4 separate regions of the Homo sapiens genome follow, and all the other regions are linked to region 2. The links are contacts of gene promoters, found by promoter capture Hi-C in blood cells and fetal thymus (Javierre and others, 2016). All regions are on one chromosome and are shown on one strand. The core of a region is centred on a gene start or on the middle of the fragment in contact, and the rest is flanking DNA. Distances in the headings are between cores, read along the strand shown.

The links. Contacts are between HindIII fragments. The CHiCAGO score rates a contact against its expected background, and 5 or more counts as called.
Region 1: a contact is called between a fragment that was not itself captured here and the fragment with the promoter of CNOT4 in region 2, in 2 of 17 cell types (M1 macrophages and M0 macrophages). The highest score is 7.8, in M1 macrophages.
Region 3: a fragment that was not itself captured here is called in contact with the fragment with the promoter of CNOT4 in region 2 in 3 of 17 cell types (non-activated CD4 T cells, fetal thymus and monocytes); the score reaches 7.2 in non-activated CD4 T cells.
Region 4: a fragment that was not itself captured here is called in contact with the fragment with the promoter of CNOT4 in region 2 in 1 of 17 cell types (M0 macrophages); the score reaches 5.0 in M0 macrophages.

What each region holds. Positions count from the first base shown.
Region 1 is chr7:135,277,676-135,285,015 of GRCh38, forward strand. The region is part of intron 3 of LOC107984123 (a long non-coding RNA gene); the gene reads right to left. It also overlaps the pseudogene SLC23A4P. Among named protein-coding and RNA genes, the nearest start is that of STRA8, 48 kb to the left of the region's middle. The HindIII fragment of the contact is 5,322 bases long and covers 1-5,321 here.
Region 2 is chr7:135,504,133-135,511,457 of GRCh38, forward strand. It overlaps CNOT4 (CCR4-NOT transcription complex subunit 4), which reads right to left and starts at 5,970. Exons shown (of 12, transcript NM_001190850.2): 1 at 5,757-5,970. RefSeq lists enhancers at 5,040-5,945, 5,716-5,915, 5,946-6,850, 6,226-6,345, 6,496-6,665 and a silencer at 5,916-6,155. The HindIII fragment of the contact is 7,472 bases long and covers 3,619-7,325 here.
Region 3 is chr7:135,654,674-135,660,981 of GRCh38, forward strand. It overlaps the pseudogene RPL15P11. Among named protein-coding and RNA genes, the nearest start is that of STMP1, 4.7 kb to the right of the region's middle. The HindIII fragment of the contact is 4,314 bases long and covers 2,752-6,308 here.
Region 4 is chr7:135,257,995-135,264,993 of GRCh38, forward strand. LOC107984123 (a long non-coding RNA gene) reads right to left here. Exons shown (of 6, transcript XR_007060540.1): 6 at 1-5,887. It overlaps STRA8 (stimulated by retinoic acid 8), which reads left to right. Exons shown (of 9, transcript NM_001394401.1): 9 at 424-669. The coding sequence ends at 498. Among named protein-coding and RNA genes, the nearest start is that of STRA8, 28 kb to the left of the region's middle. The HindIII fragment of the contact is 8,504 bases long and covers 1-6,563 here.

The DNA of each region.
Region 1 (7,340 bases), core at 1,411-3,910, 230 kb before region 2:
GCTTTTCAGGAAATAGGCTTCAAAATTAATTATTGATTGTAGTCACAATGATGATGATGTTGGCGACTCCCAACACTAGCACACTCGGTCGTGTATTGAACATCTTGCTGCAGCATTTTTCTGTTTTCCTAGTTTCTATTGCAGAGGTCGGGAAACTTTCTGGGTTTCTTTGTTTTGTTTGGTTTTGTTTTGTTTGTTTGTTTTGACGGAATCTCACTCTGTCACCCAGGATGAAGCGCAGTGGCACGATCTCAGCTCACTGCAACCTCCGCCTCCCGGGTTCAAGCGATTCTCCTGCCTCAGCCCCCTGAATAACTGGGATGACAGGTGCGCGCCACCATGCCCGGCTAATTTTTTTTTTTATTTTTAGTAGAGACAGGGTTTCACTATGTTGGTCAGGCTGGTCTTGAACTCCTGACCTCGTGATCTGCCCGCCTGGGCCTCCCAAAGTGCTGGGATTGCAGGCGTGAGTCACCACGCCCGGCTATGCAAACTTTTTCTGTAAAGGACCAAAAAAGTGAATATTTTCAGCTTTATGCCCATACGGGCTCTGTCACAACTTTTCCAGACAAGATGTGAAGAAATGAGTGTAGCTGTGTTCCAATAAAACTTCACTTATAGACACTGACATTTGAATTTCAGATAATTCTGATGTGTCATGAAATGTTCTTCTTTTGATTTTTTTAACCACTTAAAATGTAAAACCATGCTTGGTCGTGGGCTGTCTGCTCTAAAGGAGGTGATGGGCCAGATCTGGCTCCTGGGCTGCAATTTGCCAACTTATCTGCTGGATTAAGTTTGCTTTATTTCCCCATTTTATTTTACTGTTTGGATGTTCGACTTGTTATTTTATTCTTTTAGAAGTTGCTCACAACTTTTTAATGTGAATTGTTCACTTAACACTGCCCATGGGTAAATAAAATGTCTAGTCTCCCATCAAATAGTACAGTGACCTTAGAAAACTTGAACTTCTACCACCATTCTGCTATTGTTGTCAAATATTTGTTTATTTTTCCACTGCCATTGCTCATTATTGTTTTTATTATATTTTCCTACAATTAGTGCTTATTTGGATTTACCTAGTACTGTGAAGTAAACGTTTGTGTTCCCTCAAAATTCATATGATGGTGTTTGAAGATGGAGCCTTTGGGAAGAAACTAGGTTTAGATGAGGTCATAAAGTGATATGGTTTGGCTGTGTCCCCACCCAAATCTCATCTTGAATTATAGCTTCTATAATTCTCACATGTTGTGGGAGGGACCTAGTGGGAGAACCGAATCATGGGGGTGGTTTCCCCCATACTGTTCTCATGGTAGTAAATAAGTCTCACAAGAGCTGATGATTTTATAAGGGGTTTCCCCTTTCACTTAGCTCTCATTCTCTCTTGCCTGCTGCCATGTAAGACGTGCCGTTCACCTTCCGCCATGATTGTGAGGCTTCCCCAGCCACCTGGAACTGTTTGGTCCATTAAACTTCTTTTTCTTGATAAATTACCCAGTCTTGGGTATGTCTTTATCAGCAGCATGAAAACAGACTAATACATAAGGGAAAAGCCCCTTTGATGGGCTTAGTACCCTTATAAAGAGAAGAGATTTTTCTCTGTCTTCTCTCCTCTCTCTCTCTGCATGTACCAAGGAAAGTCTTTGTGAGGACACAGCTAGAAGGTGGCCATCTGCAAGCCAGGAAAGGAGCACCCCTCAGAAGCTGACCATGCTGGCATCCAGATCTCAGACTTCCAGCCTCCAGTACTGTGAAAAAATAAATTTCAGTTGTTCAAGCCACCCAGTCTATGGTTGGTTTTTGTTTTTGTTTTGTAAAGACAGGGTCTCACTATGTTGCCCAGGCTGGTCTCGAACTCCTGGACTCAAGCAATCTTCTGGCCTTAGCCTATGAAGTAGCTGGGACTACAGACATATACAGGCACTGCACCCAGCTATAGTATTTTGTTGTGGCAGCCCAAGCTGACTAACCCACCTATGTTTTCTACCCATATGTTCCTCTGCTCACTTATAGCTTCTTTTCCACCACTCTTTCATTCGAGATTCCATTTCCTTTTTCCTGAAGTTTAGCTTTTAATAATTATTTTAATAAGGGTCTGTGACTGATAAACTCTTAGTCTTCGTTTACCTGAAAATGTCTTTATTTTGCTATCAGTGTTGCCTGATGTGGGGTTCTACAGTGGGATAGAATTCTAGGATGATAATATTTTCTCTTAGCATTTTGAAAATATTCCATTGTCTTCCAGCCTCTACCGTTGCTAGTGAGAAGGCTGCTAACTGTCCAATTGCTATTCTTTTGTAGGCATTTTTTTCTGTCTTATTACTTTTAAGATTTTTCTCTTTGTATTTGTATTGCAGTTTCATTATGATATATCTAATTGTAGACTTAATTGTTTATTACACTTGGGACTACATGTGCTTTTAAAATCTGAATATTCATATTTATCTGTTCCAAAATAGTATTAGCCATTATATCACTTCTAATACTATCACTTTTCCATTTTCTCATTATCACTTTCAGGAATTCCTGTTAGAAACATGCTGGACTTCTCAGTCTAGCTTCACATTTCTTAACTTCTGTTTCATATTTCTCATCCTCTATTTCACATTTCCCATCTTTTTATCTCTCAGTGCTGCATTCTGGATTATTTCCTTAGATAATCTTTCAATTCATGAATATCTCTTTAGCTGTGTCTAAATGCTGTTTAACTCATTAAATGCATTTTTTAATTGCAGTGACTTTATTTGTTTTTATTACTAAACTTCTATTTGGTTCTATGTTCAAATTTCCTTGTTCTTGTTTCATTTTATCTTCTAGATTATGGTTTCTATTGCTTCTTGAGTCTCTTTAATTATTTTAAACATATTGATTTACTATTATCTTTTAAATTGTTCTATTAGCTCTGGATTCTACTGATTCTCTCTCATAATACATTATTACCTGGTGTGAAATGACAAAATTTATGTCTGTGAACTCTTCTTCAGGGGCATTCTTTTTCTTCCCTGTGTCTTACGTGCTTTAGAATGTGGAAATATCCCTAAAGAATAATTGTACATTTTCTTCTGTGAGAACCACAGGTATTTTATTGGCAGGACCAGTTTTAGCTTTAATTTCTGAGCTTGCAAATCTTTCCACCACACCCATATGTGTTCACGTGTTGTAGAGTTGGAGTCCTTATTTTTCATGCAACTCCATATTCTAACACTTCCCACAGACCTCTAGGAAGAATAAAAGTTTCCTTGTTTATTCCCTGGAATGGTAGCGTTATTATTTCCCACGCTCACTGAAGTGGGTGCTCTTCCAGATCCCAGTTGATCATTACAACCCAAGCTCCTAGCCTTCGGTCCTATATCTGGGTCTGATTCTTTACCTAACCATCATAAGCCACATGATCCTGGCTATAATTCCCATCTTTGTTTCTAGAAAGTAAGGTTTTCCTCCTTGGTTTTGAACTTGATTCTGGATTTAATAACCGTTCATCCAGCATTTTCAGGTGTTGGTAATGTTTGTGGGTTCTATGTTAGCTCAAACTACCATGATACTGGAGGATGACGTTTAAATTGGTCTAAGGTGTTGAAAACTGAATTTGCCGTTTCTTCCCACGGTTTTCTACTTTTTCTGCAACCACCATTCCCGCAAAACAGAATCATCTTTCACTTTTCCCTCTCCACTACTTCTTGCATCCCAATGAGTAATGATAATCCTGTTGGTTCCATATTGCTGTCACTTTCATCTGTGGCTAGTATTGTGCTGTATAATTGGTCGGCTGACCGTCAGTGGTTTCAAACCTTGAGATGTGTGTGGATCAGTATAACTTAGTGAAACATGAGGAATCTATCTTCCCTTCCAATAGGCTGACTCGGTGAATAAAACCAATCAATCATCAATTAATAAGATGAAGTTGCAATTAGCAAGAACTTTCTCGTGTTTACAGCACTGGTGAAAAACATTGGCCCAGCAGAGGGAGCTAAAATACCACAGCTAAGACCCCAGGTTTGTGACACACTGTGTTGGACACTTGGGGGCAGTGTGGGTGAAGATGGCTCCCTTAGACCTGGGCCCTCTGTTTCAGAGCAACGATTGGCAAACTTTTTCCGTAAAAGGCCAGATAGTAAATATTTTAGAATTTGTAGGCCACATGTAGTTTCTGATGCACGATCTTTTTGTAAAACAACCTTTAAAAGCATTCTTAGTTCATGGGCCATTAAAGGAAAAGAGGTCACAGGCTGGATTTGGTCCAAGAGCCATATTTTGCAAACTGCTTTAGAGGATTCTACATATCACAAGCACAAAAGTAAACAGCAAATGTATTAAAGAAAATAAGAATGCCTCTGTCACTTGGAATCTAGTCCTCAGTGCTGGCAGGGCATGACCCAAATCCCTAAACATCCACTCTCACTACTGATACTGTTCAGGCCCCCAGGAACATTCCTTTCCATAACTGTTGTCCACCGTCCTCAAAACACAAGGCAACTGCTTCTAAATGCACTGAAGTTTTCTGTTTTTGCATTTTTAGACAGAGTCTTGCTCTGTTGCCCAGGCTGGACGGCAATGGCACAATCTCGTCTCACTGCAACCTTTGCCTCTCAGGTTCCAGAGATTCTCGTGTCTCAGCCTCCCGAGTAGCTGGGACTACAGGCGTGCACCATCACACCCGGCTAATTTTTGTATTTTTCATATAGATGGGGTTTCATCATGTTGGCCAGACTGATCTCAAACTGCTGACCTCAGGTGATCTGCCCGCCTCAGCCTCCCAAAGTGCTGGAATTATAGGCATGAGCCAACACACCCAGCCATACTGAAGTTTTTTCAGTTGTTCCATTGCAGTGATAGAGGCAGACATTGCATTAAAATACAGGAAGGATTTGAGCAGCAGAAGGGCTTAACTAGGAGTAAAGACGAATTAACTTGTCAGATCTTATTTCTTGGGAAGTAGGAAGGCAACAGATTCTTACATAAGGAATCGTAGTTCTCAGCGGGGCTGAGTGTAGGGAAACCCTGCCCTGGAATCTAGCAGAGCAGATGCCCAGTTTTAATTTGGATTTACCAAAGCCAAGTATAGGCTCCCCGGGGGACAGCAAAAAGCAACAAAAACAGGAAACCCCACAAACCCACAAACTGCATGTGTGCTGTGATTCATTCTATTGATGATACGATATGAATAGACTTCGCTGAAGAACTTCTTGATTTGGAAAAGGTAGTGCAGCACATACCGCTCTGAGATTGGACAACCGACCTGGCAAAACTCCAGGCCCCACCAGCTTGACGGGTGAAGGCCTTAGGTATATCTTGGTCTAGAGCTACATGGAACAGTTCTTTAAAGCTTGAAATGCCTTGTTAACTCTGGGTCCACCCTGAGATAAAAAGGAAGGACAGGAATTTGATGAGGCAATTGAGTCTACTTACATCTGGCTGTACTTTTGGACTATATGTCAGAGTACAGGCACATGCAAAAAGGCTGTCGTTGAAAGTAGAGAAGAGTAACAGAAGGTTCTAGCTGAAATTCACAAGTTAGGGCTCAGATTGGTCTATTGCATCCTCACAGGCACAGTGCTCCTGAGCTATGGGAAGTGTTGGTGATGGAGTCTACGCTGAATGAGGACTGACCCTGCAAAAGACAGGTGTCCAGCACTGCCATGGGGCTTTTGGTGCAGATGTGGCCCAAGGCAGCTACTCAACCACTCTGCCTTTGAAAGACCATTACCAAGCAGTCCACCACTGGGCATTGTTTGGGGTTAGACCACTAATGAATAAGCAAATAAGTGTAAATCAGAGATGTCAATCATGTCTTGAGTGATGTCAGAAAGACATTCTAATGAGGAACGGCCTGATAAACAAAATGTGTTGATTACAGGGAAATAGTCATATTCAGGAAAAAAAAAGACAATTACCCAGGAAAGATACATAATATCCACAAGCAAGTGATTTAGTCCCCATCCCCTAGGGCAGCCAAACCTCACAGTATAATCTAAATCCAGCAACAGAGACTTGGGCCCCATTGTACAAATCTTTGAATTCAAAAGCACTAGTTGGCATCTTTCTGAAGGTGGAACTCAATTAACTGGGAAAGGCTGGAACTAGAAGAATGCAACATTCTGTCCAGCCAACGGAAGGCCCCTGATAGAAGTATGGCAAGTCTAAGTCGGTCCAAAGGACCAAGGTGTGTATGACGTGGTAACTGTGCACATGCAAATCCTACCAGCAATTATACCATATGTAATTCCATGGATTCCTGGGCCATAGTTAATAAACTAACTGATCTGGCAAGTGAATCACAGAAAATGCTATTTACATTTCTTCCCTTTCATGGGACAGGACTTCATGGTTAAATTTTAGAGACTGGTTGTTCATGTTGATGCCCCTTAGTCTTAAAAAGAGGGAAGTATGTCTTTGAATGTAGTCACTAGAGTCCACAAGATGACACCTTGGGCCACAAGCCATGCACACACACGCTCACAAACAACATAATCCCCACCTCCATCTGTTGCCACTTGTGTCACCCAGGACGGTCCAGATTGCCAACAGCAATGGGCTCATGTGCCTTTGGTGGGGGAATATATTTTGAGGGTTTATGGCCCATCACAGAGCTGGCAGGCTGCCTATCCTGGACATATCGCAGAGCAAGGGAAATTTAAAGACTTAAAAAACTGGTATTGACAATGTTTCTGGTTTGAGCTTTGCCCATTCTGCAACTAAAGATCTGACCCAGAGTACTATAAAAAGACTGGCAGCCCAGATCACCCACCAACATGATATCAACTTACACATCAACAGCTCAAGGATCACTTTTCACAGCATGAACGGGGCAAGAGTAGACCAAGAAATACAATCTCAAATGACCTCTTCATATTTCACATCACTTCTACAAAGCAGCACAGTTTTGAAAAAAATTGCAATGTGTGCTTGAAGGAACAAAATGATGGTGAGAAAGACACAGAGGCCTGGCTTTCCAGGGTAGGAGAAGCACGAGAGCAAGTCAACAGCGGAGCATTGTCTAAGGCATAGGTTGAGAAATGGAGAGATAAGGAAATCTTTCCAGGACTAGGGATTTGATTGTGTTCCCTAAAGTAGGAATAATACAAATTAATTTAATTTCACTTGTTGGAACCCTGAAGGCATTTATGAGTTGTACTGATAAATCTGGTATTTTCAAGATGCACCCAACCCAGTGGAGAGGACCCAGTTACAATATACTTATTAAGTCATTTGAAGGTACCTTGGGAAGGACACATGAAGTAGGTTTAATGGTGTTACTTTTGCTGCTCAGTATTTGAAGGATAACAGAGAAGGAATCCAATACTCCTCCTTTAATAGGAGCAAGGGAATGGGCTCAGGCATCC
Region 2 (7,325 bases), core at 4,720-7,219:
AAATTTCAGATATTTGGATTAATGACCATGTATCTGTTTGTTGCTATTAAGAAATGCTCCACCCCTTTGAAATTTCAGTCTAATTGCTTTTCAAAATTCAATCACTATTTTGCCTACATCATTCACTAATTGCTTCCAAAAGCAGTAATATAAGATCTACTAATTTTTTTTTTTTTTTTTGGAGACAAAGTCTCACTCTGTCACCCAGGCTAGAGTGCAATGGCGCAATCTCAGATCACTGCAACCTCTGACTCCCAAGTTCAAATGATTCTCCTGCCTCAGCCTCCCGAGTAGCTGGAATTACAGGCACGTGCCACCACATCCGGCTAATTTTTTTTTTTTTTTTTTTTTTTTTTTATTTTTATTTTTTTTGAGACGGAGTCTCGCTCTGTCGCCCAGGCTGGAGTGCAGTGGCGGGATCTCGGCTCACTGCAAGCTCCGCCTCCCGGGTTCACGCCATTCTCCTGCCTCAGCCTCCCAAGTAGCTGGGACTACAGGCGCCCGCCACTACGCCCGGCTAATTTTTTGTATTTTTAGTAGAGACGGGGTTTCACCGTTTTAGCCGGGATGGTCTCGATCTCCTGATCTCGTGATCCGCCCGCCTCGGCCTCCCAAAGTGCTGGGATTACAGGCGTGAGCCACCGCGCCCGGCCCATCCGGCTAATTTTTGTATTTTTAGTAGAGATGGGGTTTCACCATGTTGGCCAGGCTGGTCTCGAACTCCTGACCTCGTGATCTGCCCACCTCGGCCTCCCAAAGTGCTGGGATTACAGGCGTGAGCCACCGTGCCCGGTCACATCTACTATTTTTAAGGGAAAGCATTTTATTCTTCTAATTACACTGCTTTTTTGCCTTGACCTTTTTTCCAAACTGGTTTTAGGCATATCCACAAGCCAATTTTGATTATTTTGATTTCAAATTCTACTCCATAATTGCTTTAAAACTCAAGAGGTGAGATTTTAGTAGCCATACTTTAAAAAAGTTGTTTTTGAACAGTTATCTGACATACACACCTATACAAATAGCAAGACTTATCCTAATAGCAATACATCATCTGCCCATCACCCAAAGCAATTAAAGCTTAAAACAGGACAACTCTCCTGTATAAACAGAGTTTAATAATAAAGAAGCCGTACTTGAGGCCGGGCACAGTGGCTCACACCTGTAATCCCAGCACTTTGGGAGGCTAAGGCGGGCAGATCACGAGGTCAGCAGTTCGAGAACAGCTGGTCAACATGGTGAAACCCCATCTCTACTAAAAATACAAAAATTAGCTGAGTGTGGTGGCGGACATCTGTAATCCCAGCTACTCGGGAGGCTGAGGCAGGAGGATTGCTTGAACCTGGGAAGCAGAGGCTTCAGTGAGCCGAGATCGTGCAGCTACACTCCAGCCTGGGTGACAGAGCGAGACTCCGTCTTGGGGAGTAGCGGGGAGAAAAAAAGCCATACTCACAAATAAACCTGTTAAGATGAAAAATAAACTCATACTCAAACTGTGTTATACCATCCTTAAAGTTAGGTTTTCCTACCAAGTAAAAGTAATCATCTTCTTTTTAGTAGCTTATAATTTCTCTTTTCTGATAAAAAGAAAAATATGCTGCTAAAATCTAAGTACTAAAATCTAAGGAGACAAAATAGTGGTGAAATTTTTTATAAACTTTGTAATTAAATAATAAAGAATCGTATCATAAAAAAGAAATGTGTCACAGAACCAGTTAGATTCTATTATAGTAGAAAAAGTTGACATTTACCACATAATCTTTTCTAATAAAGAAGTCCACATAACAAGATTAAAAACAATTGTGAAGTTCTTTTAGAAAACCAATAAATGCATGATTAAAAAGTCCCACATATCTTCTTTCCTTGCATCACAAAAATAACTGGGTAAATTATGCTAGCTTTTAAATTTGAGTACTCTCAACTTTTGAGGAAAATATGTATATACTACAATCTTTAAAATATTGAGGATATTGTCATCTTTTATTCAGGAATGGATATTTGCAGATTTTTCCTAATATCTTTGAGGTAACATAAAATATTATAAAATCTCAGAATGTGTTAAACAAGTTTTATCCAATACATGCTATTCCAGTGGGATAAAAACCATTTACAAGTTCCATTTAGATTAAGAAATCCTTTGAGAAAATTATGTAGTACATTCTAGTTATACTGTTTCTAGAACAGCAAAAATCTCTATAACCTATTTCCCTACTGTTTTCTTCAGAACCAAATGAGCTGAATGTAACTTCCTTCACAAAGAGTCAAGACAGTATTATAGTTACTGTAAGAGAGCTAACTAACTGAATTTTCACCAGAGGCTGAAGTTTTCACAAATTAAAACCATTTTACTTAAATGATCTATAAAAATAATAACACTAAGTTTAAACATATTTAATTGAGTACTATTTGCAGTCACATTAGAAAATTTAATTTTAGGCCTGGCATGGTGGCTCACGTCTGTAATCCCAACCCTTTGGGAGGCCAAGGTGGGCGGATCACGAGGTCAGGAGTTCAAGACCAGCCTGACCAACATGGTGAAACCCCGTCTCCACTAAAAATACAAAACTTAGCCGGGCATGGTGGCACACGCCTGTAATCCCAGCTACTCAAGAGACTGAGGCAGGAGAATCGCTTGAACCTGGGAGGCAGAGGTTGCAGTGAGCCAAGATCGCACCACTGCACTCCAGCCTGAGTGACAGAGCGAGACTGTCTCAAAAAAAAAAAGAAAAGAAAAGAAAAAGAAAGAAAAGAAAATTTAATATTTTTCTCATACAAAACAACAAAAAGATAAATTTATTAAACTGAAGAATATGGATTCCTTTTAAAGCCAAGATTAGGGAGGTGAAAAAAGGGAAGATTTCTAAATCCAAACTGCTTAAACTGATAAGATATTTTTTCATTCCTTTAAAGCACACAAAATCATTTTTAAAATAAGACTCCCCTAAAGCTAGGAGTTCATCCACTGGCAACACCCTTTCTTTAACAAATGAGTTGCAAGTTATCGCTAGTACTCCCATTTAGACTCAAGTTGAAGGGCATTACAAAAACAATTTTATTTTTCTGCACTTTGTCATTTGATTATAACTGTCTCATCCTAATTTTATAATAGGCCAACTTTAAGCGATTCATGTTCAAAACCTTCTTACAGAAATAATCTATTGATCTCAAGAATTCAACTACTCAACCTGGCAGAAAGTATTCCAAATTATCAAAAGAAACCATGAAAATATGAAGCTTCAGTGTTCATAACGTTAGATCAAAAAACTAAAACCAAGCAAAACTATTTAGAAATCTCAGCTCCCTATTTCCTATCAAAATGTTAAAGAACTTTAGATATCTTCTTTAAACGTACTAAAGATACAAAAGTAAATTCCTTTTGACTTCAGAGGGCTGAAATGAAGAATTCAGTAACTGCGGGCAAAAATTATGGAGGGGAAAGAATTACTTGAGAAAATATTTCGTGAGACAAATACCTTTTTTTAAAAAAAAAGATGTATTAAAATCACTTACTCCCTTCTACCAGACAAACAATCCTCTCCTAGAACTCACTGCTTACAATTCAGCCAAGTATGACTGCCAAGAGTTTCTAAACCTGTGTTAGGATTTTTAAAAGTGGAAAGCTTCTCCACCAGTGTATTACAACAAAAAGTATATTTTTTAGAGTTAAAGATCAACTATTAAATACACTCCTACTGATAAACTAAATGTAAGTGATTAAAAAAAACCCAAAACTCAACTTGTAACTTAGCACAAAGTTTGCTATATAAATTGCTTGCAGTTCTAAGAGTAGGTATTTATTTGGTCCCCCAAATTGGGGCTTAAGTGGCTGAAAGAAAAAAGTTTTATAAACAGCTTTTCTAACCTTAGTTTACATTTGGTAAAACAGACCATTTATCACAATCAAGTGAACATAATGCCAAATGTTAAGATTCCAAATTTTACAGGTAAAATTTGTAAAAATTACAATAACCCAGTAATGGACTGCCACATGAGACTGTCACTGATTTTAAACATTTTTACATATATCTTAAGAATACAATGTCATGTAAGTCATGTTTAAACTTGGGATGTATGTATTTGAACTATGTAATCTTGGTTGCTTTTCTGGTAATTCTTTATCTCACAGTGGTCTGATTATAGCCAGGGCTGCTTCTTCCCATTTTACCATTAGTCAGTACATCTTAATTTTGCTTTCACCAAAACATGGACATCATAAGCCACCTCTTGCTTCCAGTTTTCTGCTTTTTACTGTAGATAACAATGACAGTGAGTTCCACCAAATGCATGTATGTGCACAGCTTTGTCATTCTTTTCCCAGCCCCCTTCTTTTCTATGAGAAAAATACGAGGAACTTAGGTTTATATAAAAATGTCGATTTTTCTTTTGCATACATAACTAATGGATTTTCAAGACAAGACAATTTATTCTGATAACTATCATCCTAGAAATGTCAAGAGAACTTCCCAAATCCAAAAATAAGAAGAAAATCTGATATTAACTGGAGAGGAAATTTCCACTCAAATCATAAATAAAATGTCATCAATTAAGCTGAACATCAATAAAACTCAGTCAAAAATCAAGCCTCAATACAGAACCCACACATAACCCACATGTAATCAAAATATCACTTATATTTGCTAGCGGAGTTCACAGATGAATTCTGTATGTGCGCCAGATTTATCTTATTTTGTAATGCTGGGGTTAATATTTATTGGTATAAATCAGGGCCCACACTAAGTGTCCTGGGGAGAGGCAATCCAAAGAACGCTTAGTAGCATGATAAAACCGGTCCAAAACGAAAAAAAAGAAAAAAAGCCAAGTCCTAACACAACAGAGCGAATAAGCGACAAATAGATCACAGAAAGCAAAACGAAAACGGTCCTCTCCGGAGTAGCCTGAATAAAAGATCTTCACTCATAACGTTTAATAGTATCCTACCTCACTTCATTCACTTCCCAACTTCCTTTTACTTTTCAAGGGCCACCACGGGGCTTCCCTTTTTCTGGAAGTGTATATTGAAAGGATCTGTACAGGAAAGAGGGAAGGAACGGACAATTCTCAAGAAGGCTGAGAAACAGGTGGGTTAGCAGGAGGAGCATAATCTAGATACTTAAGGGGCAGCTTTAAGATGACAGATGTGGTGGAAGGAAAGACTGCAAATCGGAAGCAGCTCTAGTGTGGCAGATACACTGTGGGCTGATTGCAAGCACCAGAGGGGGGCAAAGGCTAACTCCAGAGTGGTAGCAGTGGAGCAAAAAAACAAGCAGCAGGACGAGTGGGCAATGAGCAGTGGGATTAATGAGCAGCAGCAGCCAACACGGATCAGAGTGGAAGTGATGGCTTTGGTCTTGGGAGACGGGGGCCAGAGGGAAAGGACGTCAGACAGGGAACAGGGGATTGGGGAAACAAGGAGGGCTGAGACCTAAGAATCCTGCCCCGGTGAAAATGCAGGGGGAAAAGCTGGAGACCAAAAGCCGCCTCGGCTCCCCAATTAAAGAAATTCTCGAAGGAGAGTCGCTGCTTGCCGCCGCGCTGCCTTCTGACCCGCTCCCTTTTCCTTATGGTAACTGCTGTGGCGTAAAGGGGAGAGGGAGGAAGAGGAGGAGGAGGAAGAAGACCAAGGAGGAGGAGGGTGAAGATGAGGCGGGGGGTGGGGAGAAAGGGGGGTGCGGCCTGTACAGTCCCAGCGAAGCCTCCGCTCTCTCGTAGCCGGTCAGCCCCGGGTTTCCCCTAAGCCCAGCCCCGCATAGACTCACCCGCCTGCCTTGCCTCGCTTTTCCCTCAGCCGACTCCACGGGCTGCCGCGTCCTCACAAGAAACCACCGAACGAGCGTCGGGGAAAAAACTCTTCAGAACCGGGCCTGATTGCTTCAGCGAGTCCGACCTTTACGGCTGAGAGAGAGACTCTCAGCTTTCGGTGGGTTCCACAGCCAGACGGGCCACCATCTTACATTAGGGTAAGACTCCTCCGGCCTCCCGTGCGCAGGCGCACGCTGATCCGGCCAGGAGGGGCGGGGGAGGGGCGGGAGGAGCGGCGGGCGGCTGAGTGGGAGGTTGCGGTGGCCGCTCCCGCAGCACCCTGGGAGTTGAAGTCCTCGGAGGGTAACCTCCCAGGGGCACGCCGGGAGTTGAAGTCCTCTCTCAGAGGGCGGAGGGGATCGCCCACCTCACGTGGCTGCTGGACTGATGCCTTTCTTCGTGTTTTGCTTCCTTCTCTGCACGCGTGTGCTGCTTCAATGTCATTTGGTCGGCGGTTTTCACTAGTGATTCCGTGTCCTCGGTGTTTGCGGAAATGTGCTACCCCAAGACTGGGGCGAGGCTAAACAGTTTTTCGGGGAGCCCGGAATGTTTATTCTCTGCCCCGCCCACCAGGGATATCTAAAGGGGGCGGGGTGGAGGTGGAGGCAGGTTGTGGGTACGAAGAGCGCGGGATTTGATCCAGGGTGAGAATTTGATACAGACTTGGCGTCTGTTTGCGAACAAGGAGGAAACAGGCGCCTGTTTAATTCATTTCCCTGTCCTTGCGCATTTGGGGCCACCACCCTTGATCCCTTCTTCACTGTAAAATCACCAGTGAAGACATACACTAAATTGTTCTGTGCAGATTACCCAAGAGAACGGAACACCCGTGCACTTACAATAACGTGCTTCTGTTGGTGTGAATTTGAGAATTTGCGGACCTCGGTGCAAATTAGTGTTAGTTCGGTGTCCAGCCAGCACAGCTGTGTGCAAGTTTACAAACTACACACATCGGCACATCCCCAAGAACAATAAATGCAGCCACAATCCCTACGAGCACTGAGGAATCATCAGTCACAAAAGTCAGTCAATGTACTGGTCGCCCCGTTTGCATCCCAGAACTCTGGTGGAAGTGGCGCTCGAAGCAGTAACTTTTGCTTATTGCATGTATTCTTCACCCACTCATACAGCAAATACTCAATGAGCTCCTCCTAGCTGCCGGGTACTCTTCTATATATTGAGAATACAATGGTGAGCAAAATAGAAAAAATTCCCTGTCCCTATTCTAGTGATGTGTTGGGATGAGGAAGAGGAGAGAAGAGGCATTATTTTAAAAATACGTGATTAAAATGCATAGTATGTCATAACCGATTTTAAAAACTTAAAGCAGGGAAGGGGAGTAGGGAAAGAGGTTGCAGTTTTAAATTTACGAACTTAATTTCATAATAAGCCCTCAATTCATTGTTTTTTCTTTTTTTTTTTTTTTGAGACGGAGTCTAGCTCTGTCACCCAGGCTGGAGTGCAGTGGCGCGATCTCGGCTCACTGCGACCTCCGCCTGCCGGATTCAAGTGATTCTCCTGCCTCA
Region 3 (6,308 bases), core at 3,659-6,158, 150 kb after region 2:
CACGGTGATAACCCCGTCTCTACTAAAAATACAAAAAATTAGCCCGGCGTGGTGGCAGGGGTCTGTGGTCCCAGCTACTCGGGAGGCTGAGGCAGGAGAATGGCGTGAACCCGGGAGGCGGAGCTTGCAGTGAGCCGAGATCGCGCCACTGCACTCCAGCCTGGGCGACAGAGCAAGACTCCGTCTCAAAAAAACAAACAAACAAACAAAAAAAAAAACCACATTATATTTAGTTATCCCTTTTTTTTATTTTTTGAGACAGAGTCTCACTCTGTTGTCCAGGCTGGAGTACAGTGGCTCGATCTTGGCTCACTGCCACCTTTGCTTTCCGTGTTCAAGTGATTCTCGTGCCTCAGCCTCCTGAGTAGCTGGGATTACAGGCGTGCACCACCATGCCCAGCCTATTTTTGTAATTTTTTTTTTTTTTTAGAGACAGGGTTTCACTGTGTTGGCCAGTCTGCTCTCGAACCCCTGGCCTCAAGTGATCTGCCCACCTCGGCTTCCCAAAGTGCTAGGATTACAGGTGTGAGCCACCACACCTGGCCCAATATTTAGTTATCTCTTTAGTCAATTTTTATTCTAAAACAGTTCCCTGGCTTTTCGGAGGATGGGAGGCTTTTATAACTGACATTTTTTAGCTGTTTTGGAAAAGGTCCTACAATTTGTTTTCTTTTAAACAGGTTAAACAGTTGTGGCCAGAATACCACACTTGTACAGCTGATATGTGCCTTCAGTGTATCACATCAGGAGGAGGTGCATATCAGTGTGTCCAATTATATTAAGCTTGACCACTTGGTTAAGGTGGTATTTGACACACATCTTTGTTGTAAAATATGTGTTTCCCATTATAACAAGTGATCCATGGAGGGATACTTCAAATATCTTGTTCTTAAAAAACCTTGCAACCGGGATGGGCCCCCGGCCTTTTTTTTTTTTTAAGATGCAGTCTCGCTCTGTTGCCCAGGCTGGAGTGCAGTGGCACGATATCGGCTCACTGCAACCTCCATCTCTCGGGTTCAAGCGATTCTCCCGCCTCAGCCTCCCGGGTAGCTGGGACTATAGGCACATGCCACCACGCCCAGCTAATTTTTGTATTTTTAGTAGAGACAGGGTTTCACCATGTTGGCCAGGATGGTCTTGATCTCTTGACCTCGGGAACCACCCACCTCGGTCTCCCAAAGTGCTGGGGTTACAGGCGTGAGCCACCGCGCCCGGCCCAGTTGTCATGCTTTTTAATTTTGCCAATCTAATGGGTATAAAATATTATCTCAATTGATTTGCATATTTTGTGTACCATTCTTTCCCCCCTTCAAAAGGCTTTACCCATTTTTTTTTCTATTGGGTTTTTTCTTTTTGATGTGTATGAGGTAATTACACATCCTGAATTTATATGTAATTGCTTAATTACACATGGCTGAATTGAAGCCATTCAGAATGGCTTCAATTTTTTTCAGTTTTCTCTTTTCAGACAACCAGTCTGTTGGATTATCTTTTCAACTTTTTTATGGTATACTTGTTTACATTTTAATGTGTCAAATCTTTTCCTTGATGGTATGTGCTCTTTATCTAAAAATTTTCTCCCACTTGAAATCATAAAGATACTCTTCTGTATTTTCTTTTGGCATTTAAAAATGTTGCCTCCTCCTTAGGTCATTAATTTCTCTGGCATTGATATTTGTGAATGGTATAATCTACGTTTACTTTTTTCCATATGGATAATTTTATGATTTATTGAATAGCACATTCCTTCCCACTGATATTTTTGTCAATGCCTCAAATGGTAGCATACCAACACCTTGCTTTTTTCACTTGAGGATATTTCCATATCAACACATAAAGCTCTTTTCTCGTGCACAAGTATTTCAATGTAGATATATAGCATGATTTTAATCGTTAATTTATTGGTTAACATTGTTTCCAACCTTTTTCTACAATGAATGTTTTTGAGCATAATTTCAGCAATTGCTAGGAAAAAGTTATGCTTATTTAAAATTATAGTTCTGGCCAAACTGCCTCCATGAAAGTTTTAACAAATCATTCTCCCCTCAATGTTGTGTAAACTGTGCCTGTTCCCCTACTTCTTCCAACACAGTATGTTATCAAGCTGTTTAAATTTTATTTTATTTTATTTTTTTTGAGACAGGGTCTCACTTTGTCACCCAGGCTGGCATGCAGTGGTGCAGTCACAGCTCACTGCAGCCTTGACCTTCCGGGTTCAAGCGATCCTCCTGCTTCAGCACCCCCAAGTAGCTGGACTACAGGCGCACATCATCACAGCCAGGTGATTTTCGTATTTTTTTGTAGAGATGGGGTTCCACCATGTTGCCTAGGCTGGTCTCACACTCCTGGACTCAAGTGATCTGCCCACCTCAGCCTCCCAAAGTGCTGGGATTACAGGTGTGAGCCACCGCTCCTGGCCAAGCTTTCTGATTTTTGCCAATCTGGAGAAAAATGGTACCTCATTATAGTATTAATCCACATTTCTCTTAGTATTAACATAAATGCCACCCACAGGATCTTTTCATATGTTTGAACCATTTGTATTTCCTTTTCTGTGAACTGTTCAAATCCTTTGGCCATATTTTATTGAGCCATTGGTCTCACTGATTTGTAGCAGATCTTTATATAAAGGAAGTTAGCACTGTCACTTATTTCACAAAAAGTGTTTACAGAATTTTTAAATTTTGATGTAGTTGATTTTCTCAATCTGTTATGGCTTCTGGGTTTTGTATCATGTTGGCGATGTGAAAAAGCTTCCACTCTCATTTGTAGATTATAAAATAACTTCTCTCTTTTACTCTTTTAATATTTTTTGTCTTGTTTAAGCTGTTACTTATGTGTGCAGTGCCATTTATGTTATCTGTAATTTATGTGCAAAGTGTAAAGTAGGAACCCAACATCATTATTTTTTCCACGTAATGATCCTGGTTAGATGAGTATCATTTGCTGAATGATCCATCTTTTCTCCATTTAGTGCTTAGAATCACTGGTATGGGACTGGAAAAGGTGGAGATCAAAAATTAGAATTTTAAAAGGCAAGTATCAGAGAAGACCACTGGATAAGAGAATTGAGAGTAACGGTCCTTAAAGTGCTGGTCTCTTGGGGTATAGACTAGACAGAAAAGGACTGAAGCCTTCCAGAAGGGGGCTCATAGCTCATGAGAATATGGAATAGCTGAGTGGAGATCTGGCTAAGGTCAAAGGGCTGATAGGAGAGGAGGTAGGATTTGGGAGTATACTTCACAGGTCTAGGATATGACAAAGTGTTAACGATCACGGTAGAGCACTGCTGAAGGGGAGTGAAGGTGAAGGTCACTGGAAGGAAGGAGATCTGGAAAGTACAAGTGCATATGGCCTTGAAGTCACCCAAAATTACGATAATGTGGCACTGAAAGGAAGGCTGTGGGTTAGATGCCAAAGCCTTCAGTGAATGAGGAGACTGCCTCAGAAATCAACAGATTAAGACATTAAGAAGGGCTAAAGGTAGGCTGGGTGCGGTGGCTCACGCTTGTAATCCCAGCACTTTGGGAGGCCAAGGCGGGTGGATCATGAGGTCAGGAGTTTGAGACCAGCCTGGCCAACACAATGAAACCCTGTCTCTACTAAAAATATAAAAATTAGCTGGGCATGGTGGCGGGCGCCTGTAATCCCAGCTACTCAGGGGGCCAAGGCAGGAGAATCGCTTGAACCCAGGAGGCGGAGGTTGCAGTGAGCCGAGATCACGGCATTGCACTCCAGCCTGGGTGACAGAGCTAGACCCCACTGCAAAAAAAAAAAAAAAAAAAAGGGAAGGGGGAGCTAATGGTAAACAGGAAAGTAAAGGAAGTGTTTTTATATAAGGATATTGAAGGGATAATCTGGAAGTAGCAGTGGGGAACAAAAGAGTCCTGCCTTGCTTCTCCATGCCCTGTGTTTATTTAGAGAAAACACCTTTGAAAAAGCCTTAGAGGAAAAGCTAGGCTTCATTTAAGCCTTATCTTAAGGAGAGGATAAGGTTCTACGAAATAAATTTTAATAACTATCCTTATATTGCGTTCAGAGGCTGTGCCAGACACTTGTTGGGCGCTGAGGATGGAGTCATGAGCTCAACAGGTGAAGTCCTCACCCTCAGTGTAGCTCACAGTCCGGCATCTTGCAACTCAAAGTCTGGTCCATAGACCAGCAACATCATTTGGGGTTGAAAGAAATGCAGAAAGTTAGGCCCTACCATAGACGTACTGAATCAGAACCTGTAGTTTAATAAGATGCCCAGGTGATGTGAATGAAGATTAAAGTTGAGAAGCACTGGTTAAGTCTTGAGTGAGTCAAGTTTTAACCTGGACAGACTGGAAAGTATGGTGTGTTGTAGCCATCTCCTAGTATCCCTTCCCTCTTCCCTCTTGGCAGCCACTTTAGTTCAGAGACCCTGCCCTTTCTAGTTGTAGTTGATTGTGGAGCATCTGACACCATCTTGACCCATCAGTTTTCCTTTCCCTGGCATTCGAGAATGGCAAAGAGAGAGAGATCCTATTAGGAGTAAACTCAACTTACTTGAGTTTACTTGTTAAATGGTGATATGGTTTGGCTCTGTGGCCCCTCCCAAATCTCATCTCCAATTGTAATCCCTGTAGCCCCGACGTGTCGAGGGAGGGACCTGGCGGGAGGTGATTGGATCACGGGGGCAGTTTCCCCCATGCTGTTGTTCTCTTGATAGTGAGTGAGTTCTCAAGAGATCTGATGGTTTAAAAGTGTTTGGCAGCTCCCCCCTCCCTTTTTCTCTCCTGCTACCATGTGAGATATTCCTTGCTTCCCTTTAGCTTTCCACCATGATTTTAAGTATGCCGAGGCCTCCCCAGCCATGCAGAATTGTCAGTTAAACGCCTATCCTCTACAAATTACCCAGTCTTAGGGAGTTCTTTATAGCAGTGCGAAAACAGACTAATACAAATGGCTAACCACAGAGTGTCTCTATTGGTTAGCCATTTAATAAATAAACCCAGGTCGGTTGCTGTGGCAATATGCTGGAAAGCAGAAAAACCAGGAAGTGGGTGGGGGAAGACAGAGAGAACAATGAGAGATGTTTGGAGAAAAGCAGAAATAGGAAATGTTGATTAGATTTCTATAGCTTTCCTATTCCCTAGGTAAACTAAACATCCTAAATTCCTTCCATTGATTGAACAGACCCTCTTTTTGGCCAAAGGGACTCCAGAAAGACCTTAAAACTGAGTTCCCAGACATGATGGTACGGGAGGTCAGACATGCCTCGTTATATCCCCTCTCCTTTGCAGTTTAAATGCAACAACTGATCAGCATTAATGTTAAAACACAGACCAGGGGGAGTAAGCTCTTTCCTTTCTGTCTGGCAGCAGCCATCAGGTAAGCCAAAATGGATGCATACAAGTACATCCAGGAGCAATGGAGGAAGAAGCAGTCTGATGTCATGCGCTTTCTTCTGAGGGTCTGCTGCTGGCAGTACTGCCAGCTATCTGCTGTCCACGGGGCTCCCTGCCCCACCTGGCCTGATAAAGCACGCCAGCTGGGCTACAAGGCCAAGCAAGGTTACATTATATATAGGATTCATGTTCACCATGGTGGTCAAAAATGCCCAATTCCTAAGGGTGCAACTTATGGCAAGCCTGTCCATCATGGTGTTAACCAGCTGAAGTTTGCTCGAAGCCTTCAGTCCATTGCAGAGGAGCGAGTTGGACACAACTGTGGGGCTCTAAGAGTCCTGAATTCTTACTGGGTTGGTGAAGATTCCACATACAGATTTTTTGAGGTTATCCTCATTGATCCATTCTATGAAGTTATCAGAAGAAATCCTGACACCCAGTCGATCACCAAACCAGTCCACAAGCAGAGGGAGATGTGTGGGCTGACATCTGCAGGCCAAAGGAGCTGTGGCCTTGGAAAGTGCCATAAGTTCCACCACACTATTGATGGTTCTTGCTGGGCAGCTTGGAGAAGGCGTGATACTCTCCAGCTCCACCGTTACCACTAATATAAGTAAAGTTTGGGCCAGGCGTGGTGGCTCACGCCTGTAATCCCAGCACTTTGGGAGGCCGAGGCGGGCGGATCACAAGGTCAGGAGATCGAGACCATCCTGGCTAACACGTTGAAACCTCGTCTCTACTAAAAATACAGAAAATTAGCCGGGCGTGGTGGCGGGCGCCTGTAGTCCCAGCTACTCGGGAGGCTGAGGCAGGAGAATGGCGTGAACCCGGGAGGCGGAGCTTGCAGTGAGCCGAGACTGCGCCACTGCACTCCAGCCTGGGTGACAGAGCGAGACTCCGTCTCAAAAAAAAAAAAAAGTTTGTAAAATTCGTACC
Region 4 (6,999 bases), core at 1,062-3,561, 250 kb before region 2:
TAGTGTATCCCACAGAGAGCACGCTGTCTCATTATTTTTGTTGGAAATGAGCTGCATGGTGTTTCATTGGTGGGAGCACCGTGGTGCAGTGCACCGTCTTCTATTGATGAGCATTTGGATAAAGCCTTATGAGGTCCTCTGTCTCTCTTGTGGGAACCTGGAAATCCCCAGGATAAAAAAGAAGCCAGTTCTGCTGTGTCCTTTCTGGAGGTCATAGAATGCTGAGTTGAGTGAAATGGAAATGGGACCTTCCCCCCTTAGAGCCCTTGCTTCCTGGCCCAAGCTGGAGGTGAAAATGCAGCGGAAGAGACGTAGGATAGAGTCTGGGGGCTGGGCACACCGGAGATGCAGGAGCCTTCCTATCTGCCTCGGGCCCAAGACCCACAGATAAAAAGTGACCCTCTTCCACCCTGTGTCTTGCAGGAAGCATCCTTTCCCGTTGATGAAGAGATGATCATGTTGCAGTGCACAGAGACCTTTGACGATGAAGATTTGTAATGCAGAAGAGGAGCTGCGAGGGGAGGGACTGAATGAGGTGGGCAGTTCCCAAGGTTGAATGCTGGCAGCTAAGGTTGCACCTGCCTTGGCCTCCAGGACTCTTTGGAGTGGGTTGTTCCAGAAGCATTTTGATGATTTTAGTTTCTGATTATTATAAAGTATAAGAGAAGCACGGCCTCGTGTTGGTCTTTAGGGACTGTTTGGCACAAAGGGCTGGCCTGCTGCTATTGTGCTCCTATTAAGGGGGTAGAAAGTACAGCTGGGGCCCAGGCCATGGGCCTTTCAAGGAGGACAGGCAGGATCTGTCCTCGGAGGTGACATAACACCAGGTACTTTCAGCATGTCCTGGGCACAGGGCATTGCCCTGATGGGTTCTAGAGAGTTCCACAGCCCACCTGCTCATCCTGCACACTCTGAGAGCCAGGGGCAGTGCTGACCTCAACCCTGTGCCACAGGACAGCTGGGTGGAACCAGATTCATCTGCTGCTCCTGGTAATAAAGTCACCTGAACAGGAGCTACAGTGAGGTCCGAGGGTTCCGAGGGCTTTCTGGTGAGGCTTCTGGGCAAAGGGTGCATACGTGTACCTGGGCTTGGACACTGGGGGTGAGGGTGAATTTTATGTGTCAACCTGGCTAGTCTGTGATACCCAGGAATTTGGTCAAACATTATTTTAGATGTTTCTGTGAAGGTATTGTTAATGAAATTAACATTTAAGTCAGGAGACTTCCAGTAAAGCAGATGATCCTCAGAATGCTTCCTATAGGTTAAAGGCCTGAATCGAAAGAGACCGACCTCCCGGGAGAAAGAGGGAATCCTGCCAGCAGTCCAACTTTGGACTTGAACTGCGGCTCTTCCCAGCCTGCCGGCCCGCCTTGCAGATTTTAGACTTGCACCTCCACAACTGCATGGGTCCCTTCCTTAAAATAAATATTTCACCTCTCTCTTTCTCTGTATCTACGTATATACACATCTTATTGGCTCTATTTCTCTGGAGAACCCAGACTAATGCAGGGTGTGCGGGGAGAATGGGCTTGCATGGCTCTTTACAGTTTTCAAGGCATCATAGCAGCCCCTCCCCTGCACTGAGGCCCTCCCAAAGGCTTGGACTGTGTTATCTCCTAGCGAGAGTCTGAAACACCGGCTAAGTCTTAGGACCCAGACCCAGTCCTGTGTGACTCCAAAGCAGTCCTGAGATGCATGAGCCCGCACTCAAGGACTTCCCCCGGGGTGTGCAGGGATAGGAGCTTCGCAAGCCCTTCACAGCTTACAAATCACCGCACCGAGTGGGCAGAGGGAGGCTCTCCAGGAGCTGGGCAGGAAGGGCCTTTGTGCTCAGGGGCAGCTTGAACTCCTGCTGGAAAGACAGGAATGCAGGAGCTCAGGTTGGCCACCCCTAGAGGCTCACCAAGCCAGCTGTGTGGGAAAGAAGAAATGCAGCTTTACAGAGGGGCGTGCACATAGTAGGCCCTCAAGCAATGTATGCCAGTGCTAGCCAGCCCCTCCCTCTTTGTACCAAGCTCCACCCTGATCCTATTTAGTCCAAGGCTGCGACTTCATTCCTTGAGCCATACCTGCCAGCAGCCCCTAGTCAGAGAGGACCTCAGCAGGATGTGGAGGTGTCCCTTCCCCCCACAACCTTGTGCTGGGTTGTGAGCCCAACAGCCCTCTGCTTCTCTCCTGCAGCCTTGGGTATTGGCATAGCCTGGGATGGAGTTATTGCATAAAACTACCTTCACGTGGTTCTCAATCTCCCTTCCTCCCCACCAAGGACTTGTATCGGGAAGGTATCTTCCTATATCAGTCAGTACTGTAGCAATCAGAGTTCTGCAGAAAAACAGTGCCAATACGATATAGAGACACCGAGATTTATTTTAAGAAATTGGTTTATCTGTTTGTGGGGACTGCATGTCTGAAATCTGTAGGGCTTCCAGGAGGCTGGAAACTCAGGCTGGAGTTGGCAGTGCAGTCTTGAAAGAATGTCTCCTCCCAGAAACCTCAGTTCTGTTCTTACGGCCTTCAGCTAATGGATGGTGAGCCCCAATCACATCAGCAAGGGCAATCTTCTTAATTTAAAGTGGACTGGTTTGTTAACCACATCTATAAAATGCCTTCACAACACCCCCTAAAGGAGTGCCTGATTAGATAACTGGATACTATAGCTTGGCCAGCTTGACACATGAAACCAACATCACGGGTACCCCTTGGGGATTTTTATGTTGTTGTTGTTATAGCAGCTCCCTGTGGAGGTTGGGCCTCTGTTATTACTGCCATTTGACAGATGAAGAAACAATGATTTAACTGAAGCCCCAAACCATTTAATAGAAGAATCTCAGATCACCTCACCTCTAACTCTTTTTATCCCCAATAAGTTAATGAATGGGGAACAATTTTGTTGTTTAAAGTCACAAAAAAGCCCTGCCTCTAAAGAATTAGGATGTAGGAATGTGAAGCCAGCCCTTGGAGTTCACTCTGTCGGCCACTCTGTGCATCACCTCTAGGTGATGACTGGGAGGGGGATCATGGGAGGTCAAGTGGAGGCGGGAAGAAGCAAGATTGGAGGTGAAGGAGGGAAGCTGCGAGGCCGTGGCTCTAGGCACTGCATTATCAGAACAGGGGATTCAGATTCTGATAGCGACCTTGGAATGTGCAGAAAAAGCTCCAACAGATAAATGCTTATTGAGTGCAGATGGTGTGGGCGGGTGGTGGCTGGGCTGAGCTGACATCTAGCTTGGGTAACTCAGTTCCACCTCATGCTAATTGAATCAAGCTAATTACCCCAAGCCCATCTCGTCAATTACTTCTTATCCACCAGCTACTTCTCCAACCTTGATTCTGAACAAAACAAGCCTTTGTGCTTTTATGGAAATGTCAGAAATCTGTCCCTTCTTGCATATGCTTCTCACAAAGCTGCCTTGTTCCTGAAGCTCTGAAACTACGTGTTCTGACAATAAAAAAAAGTACAGCTGAGGGAAGACCAGGAGGCTGTTCCAGGAGAGGGCCTGGCTCTCTTCTCCTGCTGTTCATCCTGCTTTGGCTGCCTGGGGACAGCACGATACGAAAATAAAGTACAGGAAAACCCACTTGGAAAACTGAGCCTGGCTGCCTGGCAGCTGTTTGGTGAGAACATAGGGAATGTTCTGAAGTCCTGGAGCTGTCAACCAAAGGAAAAGGAACAAAGGGCAGAATGAGACAGGATGTGAAGGGCTTCTGTGGGCACAGAAGCAGTAGGGTAAGGAAAGAGGATGGGCCTGCTCTTGACTGGTATGAGAGGCATCCAGGACTCCTGGAGCAGCTAAGCGCAGGTCCTCAGCTCCAGCACATTTATTACAGCATGTTAGATGGGCGGGACCCTGTTACTTTAAGCCTACCATGGCACACACTCACAAAAGTCTCTTTTTAAGAAAAAAAATCTTTTTTTAAGATAGCAGAAATAACAGCAGGTGTGTATGCTGACATGCGTTACTGAAAGAAAGAGAAAACTTGATGCAAGATAGGAGACTTGTCGCAGTGAAACCCTTGAATAGAAATCAGGGAATGGGCTCTGGAGCACAAGGGGAGGAACCAGCTTCAGGGAGGAGCCAGGCAGCTCATTCACCCAACAGGAGGGAGAGTCAAGGGGCACCAAAGCTAGGAGTGGAGACATGCAGGTGTTTGCACAGTTTCTCATCTGATTACTCCTTTACAGATTTCTCTGAAATAAGAAGCTGAGGTTGGGTATGGTGGCTCATGTCTGTAATCCTAGCACTTTGGGAAGCCAAGGCTGGAGGACTGCTCGAGCCGAGCGGTTCAAGACTAGCCTGGGCAACATGACAAGACTCTGTCTCCACAAAGTATTTTTTAAAAAATTAGCAGAGTGCGGTGGCACATGCCTGTAGCCCCAGCTACACGGAAGGCTGAGACAGGAGGATCCCTTGAGCCCAGAGGTCAAGACTGCAGTGATCTGTAATCGCACTACTACACTCCAGCCAGAGTGACAGTGAGCGTCTCAAAAAAAAAAAAAAAAAAAAAGAAGAAGAAGAAGACAGAGGTGGAAAGAGTTTTAGCAGAGAGAGCCTTGTGCTTGGGAAAGGGTTCCTTCCTGCCAGGCGGCACTGAGGATCCCGTGAAGTTCAAAAAAAAAAAAAAAAAAAGAAGAAGAAGACAGAGGTGGAAAGAGTTTTAGCAGAGAGAGCAGTGTGCTTGGGAAAGGGTTCCTGCCTGCCAGGCGGCACTGAGGATCCCGTGAAGTTCAGGGTCTGAATCTAAAACCACTCCATTCAACTGTATGTTTTCCCCAGAGATGCTCAACTGCACGAGTGCAGGTGCAGAGTGAAGAGTTATTTCTCATCAGCGTTCAGGTTTTGCCAAGAGAGTGTAAAGAAGAGAGCAGACTAAGGGCGTTGCAAATGCGAGAAGGTGGTTATTATGACTGACTGTGGCATTGAGGTTGCTCAAGGAGGGAAGAGGGGACCAGCGGAAGGTGGGAGGACGGTAGATTCAGATCCTGGCCAATTAAAGAGTTATTAGACTTGGGGGACTAGAAGTAGTGAGCTGGAAAAATAGGAGGTGGTGGTCAGACAACTGCTTGAAATTGAGGATTGCAGGCACAGCTACTGGGAATCCCCAAGGCTAGTCTGAGATGTGGCCACAGAATGAGTAACTGAGATGAGCAAAGTCACACAGGATTCTTTCAGTGCCACTTCACCAGCCAGAAACTTCTGTGACCAGTGGCGCCTCTGACCAAGTTTTGCTCACAACTGCTGGGCTGGCTCTGCCTACTCAGCCCAGCAGGCTGTCCTCAGCTTGCACTACTGGCCCAGATCCCATTCCCATCATGGGTGAGCCAGGCGCGGAGTAGTGGGAGGTGTGTGAGTGAGCACAGGGTCCAGCCACACCACAGAGCCAGGTGCACCAGCTGCTGCAGAAGGGCAGGCAGCTCCAGGTGTCAGAACCATGTGAGGCTGTGGCTGGACCAGGTATGCCTCAAGTGGCTTCCACCTTGGGCACTGGCATCCCAACAAGGGGAACGCCGTGGTGCCTGAAAACTCAAAGACACCAGCAACCGTGGAGCTGCAAGAGGGTGTTACAGCATGTCACAGCTCTGGCTTGGGGAGCCCCAAGGTATGGGCCCCCAGAAGGGTCACAGATCTTCTCTTGTAGTCTGGCAAATAAGAGCGTGTCACTGCCCACAGCTTGGCAGGCTGGGCAGGAATGTGTTTCAGCTTGTTCATGTTACCGCTCATTCGGTCCCAATGCCCCACTCTAGCCCATGGCTCCTGGGCTGCTGGTCTGGTCACACCAACACTTCCTGTCATGTGGGGCAGCCATCCGGTGCCAGTGGAGGGTGGGACGGATACAGTGCTACAGCTCCTTTCACGCCAGTCCTTTGGTGGGCTCTGGGTTCTTGTTCTGCATCCAAGAAAAATAAGGTTATGCAGACAACCAGAGAGTGAGCAAGGCAGAGAAGAGTTTTATTGAGTGACAACACAGCTCTTGACAGGAGAGAGGACCAAAAGTGAGTAGACCCTACCCAAAGGCAGGTAGTCCCAGTGTGTGGCTGAGTCTGGGGTTTTTATGGGCTCAGAATGGGGGAATGTGTGCTGATTGGTGTATGGGCAGGCCTGGAAAAATCACCATTGGATTGGCTAAAAGGTAACGAGGGGCTAGGCATGGTGGCTCATGCCTGTAATCCCAGCACTTTGGGAGGCCGAGGCAGGCGGATCACCTGAGGTCAGGAGTTTGAGACCAGCCTGGTCAACATAGTGACATAGCTGTCTCTACTAAAAATACAAAAATTAGCCGGGTGTGGTGGCATGCACCTATAGTCCCAGCTACTTGGGAGGCTGAGAGGAGAATTGCTTGAATCCAGGAGGCAGAGGTTGCAATGAGCCGAGATCACACCACTGCGCTCCAGACTGGACTACAGAGCAAGATTCTGTCTCAAGAAAAAAAAAAAAGTAACAAGGAAGTTCTCACTCCAGCTTGTGGACTCTACCTGGAACTGGCAGCCCAGTTTTCAGGCTTAAACAAGGAAGTTCTCACTCTGGCTCATAGACTCTACCTGGAACTGGAGGCCTGGTTTTCAAGCTTTAAGCTGTCTTTGGTTTGAAGGTCAGGCTTCACCAGGGATCTGCCCCTGTCTGTCTAGGAATTTGTCTGCCTCCTGCTGCTATCAAAAGGGCCAGATCATGGAGCTCAAGGAACTAGAAGCCAAGGTGTGGGAAGGATGAGCTCTGTGGATATGAAGTCTCCAACTATGAAGACAAGAATTTTGGAGACAGGAACAGTGACCAACACACTAACATCCTCAGAGAAGGAGGGTTGGTCTGTAGATGCCAACAACAAAAAGGTGCATAGGTAGAAAATCCAATGGTGTGAGGTTCAAAGCAAAAGCACAGTAGAGATGTCCTGTAGGATCTGGAATTAAAGTTCTTCCCCATTCCTCACTATCCTGAAGTAAAGTACTAGTTTTGTTAGTCAGCTTCCAGTAGAGTTTTGCAAAGGTTACATTTCACATAAAT